Linked DNA regions of Homo sapiens: region 1 is linked to region 2. Evidence: promoter capture Hi-C in human tissues and cell types (Jung and others, 2019). All regions are on one chromosome and are shown on one strand. Each heading gives the region's core, a stretch centred on a gene start or on the middle of the fragment in contact. The rest is flanking DNA. Distances are from core to core; before and after follow the strand shown.

The links. The method cuts DNA at HindIII sites, captures the fragments that hold promoters and counts their contacts. A contact is called where the count stands out against the background at its distance.
Region 1: a fragment that was not itself captured here is called in contact with the fragment with the promoter of IFNB1 in region 2 in 1 of the 25 tissues and cell types used here (hippocampus).

Annotation. Positions count from the first base shown.
Region 1 is chr9:21,125,935-21,128,634 of GRCh38, reverse strand. No RefSeq gene overlaps it. Among named protein-coding and RNA genes, the nearest start is that of IFNW1, 15 kb to the left of the region's middle. The HindIII fragment of the contact is 4,514 bases long and covers 1-2,700 here.
Region 2 is chr9:21,076,675-21,079,374 of GRCh38, reverse strand. It overlaps IFNB1 (interferon beta 1), which reads left to right and starts at 1,433. Exons shown (of 1, transcript NM_002176.4): 1 at 1,433-2,271. The coding sequence starts at 1,506. The coding sequence ends at 2,069. The HindIII fragment of the contact is 10,658 bases long and covers 1-2,700 here.

The DNA of each region.
Region 1 (2,700 bases), core at 169-2,668, 49 kb before region 2:
ATGATTTATAATCCTTTGGGTATATACCCAGTAATGCGATTGCTGGGTCAAATGGTATTTCTAATTCTAGATCCTTGAGGAAATGCCACACTGTCTTCCACAATGGTTGAACTAATTTACAGTCCCACCAACAAGGTAAAAGCATTCCTATTTCTCCACATCCTCTCTAGCATCTGTTGTTTCCTGACTTTTTAATGATCACCATTCTAACTGGCATGAGATGGTATCTCATTGTGGTTACTGTGGTTTTGATTTGCATTTCTCTGCACCATCACCAGTGATGATGAGCTTTTTTTCATATGTTTGTTGGCTGCATAATTGTCTTCTTTTGAGAAGTGTCTGTTCATATCCTTTGCCCACTTCTTGATGGGGTTGTTTGTTTTTTCTTGTGAATTTGTTTTAGTTCTTTGTAGATTCTGAATATTAGCCCTTTGTCAGATGGATAGACTACAAAAATTTTATCCCATTCTGTAGGTTGCCTGTTCACTCTCATGATAGTTTCTTTTGCTGTGCAGAGGCTCTTTAGTTTAATTAGATTCCATTTGTCTATTTTGGCTTTTGTTGCCATTACTTTTGGTGTTTTAGTCATGAAGTCCTTGCTCATGCCTATGTCCTGAATGGTAATGCCTAGGTTTTCTTCTAGGGTTTTTATGGTTTTAGGTCATATGTTTCAGTCTTTAATCCATCTTGAGTTAATTTTTGTATAAGGTGTAAGGAAGGGATCCAGTTTCATCTTTCTGCATATGGCTAGCCAGTTTTCCCAACCCCATTTATTCAATTGGGAATCCCTTCCCCATTTCTTGTTTTTGTCAGGTTTCTCAAAGATCAGATGGTTATAAATGTATGGAGTTATTTCTGAGGCCTCTGTTCTGTTCCATTGGTCTATATATCTGTTTTGGTACCATGCTGTTTTGGTTACTGTAGCCTTGTAGTGTAGTTTGAAGTCAGGTAGTGTGATGCCTCCAGCTTTGTTCTTTTTGCTTAGGATTGTCTTGGCTATGCGGGCTCTTTTTTAGTTCCATATGAAGAAACTCAATGGTAGCTTGATGGAGATAGCATTGAATCTATAAATTACTTGGGGAAATATGGCCATTTTGACAATATTGATTCTTCCTATCCATGAGCATGGAATGTTTATCCATGTATTTGTATCCTCTCTTATTTCCTTGAGCAGTGGTTTGTAGTTCTGCTTGAGGAGGTCCTTCACATCCCTTGTAAGTTGTATTCCTGGGTATCTTATTCTCTTTGTAGCAATTGTGAATGGGAGTTCACTCATGATTTGGCTCTCTGTCTGTTGTTGGTGTACAGAATGCTTGTGATTTTTGCACATTGATTTTGAATCCTGAGACTTTGCTGAAGCTGTGTATCAGCTTAAGGAGATTTGGGCTGAGACAATGGGGTTTTCTAAATATACAATCATGTCATCTGCAAACTTTTTGGTTGAATACCCTTTGTGATTTTGTTGAAAAAAACAATCAACAGTATATGCGTGGCTCTATTTGTGCATACTCCTGTCTGTTCCATTGATGTATTTGTGTTTTTTTTATTCTAATGCTTTACTGCCTTGATTACTTTACTCCTGAAGTCAGATAGTATAAATCCTCCAACATTTTGTGTTCTTTTAAATGTTATTTTGGTTGTTTTTTGTTCTACACATTTTCATATAAATATTAGAATCCATTTTTAAATTTCTATACAAAAAGCCTGGTGGAATTTTGATTGGTATTGCATTGAGTCTACAGATCAATTTGATTACAATTGATATCTTAACAATACTGAGTCTTTTAATCCTTTAACATGGTATCTCTCCCCATTTGTTTATGTCTTCTCTGTTTTCTCTGAGAGACATTTTACAGTTTCCAGTGTACAGTCTTGGCAAATTTTCTATCACATTTGTTCATAATTGTTTGTTACTTTTGATGCTTTTATAAAAATTAGAAATAGAACAACCATATGATGCAACAATCCCACAAGTGAGAATATATCCAAAGGAAATGAAATCAGTATGTCAAAGAGATATCTGCACTCCCATGTTCATTGGAATACTATTCACAATAGCCAAGATATGGAAACAACCTAAATGTTAATGAAGAGATTAATAGATAAAGAGAATGTATGAATAGTATGTACAAAATGGTATACTATTTGCCATTTTAAAAAGGAAGGAAATTTTGTCATTTGAGACAACATGAATGAATCTGGATGACACTATGTTAACTGATATAAGCAAGGCATAGAAAGACAGTGCATAATCTCACCTACATATGGAATCTTAAAAAGTTAAACTCATAGTAGTAGAGAGTGGAGTGGTGGTTACCAGGGGCTGGAGGAGTGTAGTATTGGGAAGATGTTGGTCAAAGGATACATAATTTCAGTTAGATAGGAGGAATAAGTCCAAAAGATCTATTGAACAATATGGTGACTGCAGTTAGTCATTAGTAACAATGTATTATATTCTTGAAAATTGCCAAGAAAGTACTTTTTAAGCGTTCTTACTACAAAAAACCATAAGTATGTGAGGTAATGCTTATGGTAATGCACTCAATTTGTCCATTCCATAACATATATATTTCAAAACAACATGTTATACCTGGTAAATATAAACTGTTTTGTCAATTTAAAAATAAACTTAAAAGGAAGAAAAAATTCTTTCTTTTGAATTGTAAACATATGTAGATGTTGCCTATGATAAACAGATGC
Region 2 (2,700 bases), core at 184-2,683:
GATGGACATTTGTCTTTGTTACTATGATAGTAATATAATCAACATTTATATATGTTTTGTATGTATCTATAATACACATGCACATACACATGCATATTTCTGCAGGGATAGCCATAGTAAATAACTAGTAACGGTATTGCAAGTTAAAGGAACAATCTCATTGCTTGAAATTTTAAATTTTGAAATACACTGCCAATTTTCATGGTCTCTCCTTGTAAGCTAGTTTGGGCTTTCTCACAGCATGACAGGCTCAGGGCAGTCAGACCATCCTGGCCAAAGAGCAGAGTGCCACAGACCACAACTGCTTCTAATCAGCCATCTTCCCAAAGCCTTCTCTTTTTTCTATTAATAACTTTGTATGAGATTCCATCTTAATACTTTTCTGTTGTTTGGTCTTGTAAGAGCTTATTTTTCCTGAACCAGGAAGTGGTTCAGGGCGGTTTTTCTAACTTCACAGAGCTCCCTCTTCTGTTAGCTTTTGTGAAATGGTCAAAAACATAGCAGCCTGCCTTCTGAGTTCTCCATCCCACCCTGGTTGGGCCTTCTCTATCCTTGTCTGTGTTGTTTATATCCTGCTGAAGTGTGATTCCACTTGTGGCAGTTTCTCCTCTGTGTAGGATCAAAAGGGCTGTGACTGGTTGGTTTGAAAATTTCTTATACCCTAGACTATTCCAGTGCCTTTCAGAAGTTTCCAAGGCCCTCTCACACTAATCTATTATCATATTGGGCAAAACTCCTTGCAGTTTCAGCTACTATTCCCTGATTGACTTTTCAGTAAATCTATCTCTCAGTCTTTCAGTATCCAAAGAAGATTGGTTCTAGGACCACCATCCCGCTGCCTCCACAGATACCAAAATCAGAGGATGCTCAATTCCCTCTTATAAAACGTTGCAGTATTTGCATATAATCTGCACATGTATTTCTGTATATTTTAAATCATCCCTAGATTACTTATAATACCTGATACAATATAAATGCTAAATAGCTGTAACACTGTATCTTTAAAATTTACATTATTTTTTGTTGTTGTATTATTATTTTTATTGTATTTTTAAAAAATATTTTCCATCTACAGTCAGTAGAATCCACGGATACAGAACCTATGGATAGGAAGGACCAACTGTATCTTTTAGTGTTTTGAGGTTCTTGAATTCTCAGGTCGTTTGCTTTCCTTTGCTTTCTCCCAAGTCTTGTTTTACAATTTGCTTTAGTCATTCACTGAAACTTTAAAAAACATTAGAAAACCTCACAGTTTGTAAATCTTTTTCCCTATTATATATATCATAAGATAGGAGCTTAAATAAAGAGTTTTAGAAACTACTAAAATGTAAATGACATAGGAAAACTGAAAGGGAGAAGTGAAAGTGGGAAATTCCTCTGAATAGAGAGAGGACCATCTCATATAAATAGGCCATACCCATGGAGAAAGGACATTCTAACTGCAACCTTTCGAAGCCTTTGCTCTGGCACAACAGGTAGTAGGCGACACTGTTCGTGTTGTCAACATGACCAACAAGTGTCTCCTCCAAATTGCTCTCCTGTTGTGCTTCTCCACTACAGCTCTTTCCATGAGCTACAACTTGCTTGGATTCCTACAAAGAAGCAGCAATTTTCAGTGTCAGAAGCTCCTGTGGCAATTGAATGGGAGGCTTGAATACTGCCTCAAGGACAGGATGAACTTTGACATCCCTGAGGAGATTAAGCAGCTGCAGCAGTTCCAGAAGGAGGACGCCGCATTGACCATCTATGAGATGCTCCAGAACATCTTTGCTATTTTCAGACAAGATTCATCTAGCACTGGCTGGAATGAGACTATTGTTGAGAACCTCCTGGCTAATGTCTATCATCAGATAAACCATCTGAAGACAGTCCTGGAAGAAAAACTGGAGAAAGAAGATTTCACCAGGGGAAAACTCATGAGCAGTCTGCACCTGAAAAGATATTATGGGAGGATTCTGCATTACCTGAAGGCCAAGGAGTACAGTCACTGTGCCTGGACCATAGTCAGAGTGGAAATCCTAAGGAACTTTTACTTCATTAACAGACTTACAGGTTACCTCCGAAACTGAAGATCTCCTAGCCTGTGCCTCTGGGACTGGACAATTGCTTCAAGCATTCTTCAACCAGCAGATGCTGTTTAAGTGACTGATGGCTAATGTACTGCATATGAAAGGACACTAGAAGATTTTGAAATTTTTATTAAATTATGAGTTATTTTTATTTATTTAAATTTTATTTTGGAAAATAAATTATTTTTGGTGCAAAAGTCAACATGGCAGTTTTAATTTCGATTTGATTTATATAACCATCCATATTATAAAATTGCCAAGTACCTATTAGTTGTTCTTTTTAAAATATACCTGCAAAGTAGTATACTTTCTGGCCCCTGCCTTTAAGGAATTTAAAATTCAAGAAAGCCATGTGGAATATATAAGGTAAGAGACAATAAGGGGACCTGAACCTTATGGGGGAATAAATATGGCATGAACTGCTGTGGGATTAAAAGAGAAAAGGAAAGCTGGAGGGTCTGGAACTAAACCTGGGGTTCCCATTCCTCCTACTGTGTGCTCCAGATTCTCTCATCATAAAGTTAGAATTGAGCTGGCCATCAGGAATAGCCAGAGGAATATGTCAGCTTTTGTGTTCTCCCTAACCTTCCCACGTTATTTGGGGGATACTTTGCTCCTCGAAAGATTTTTA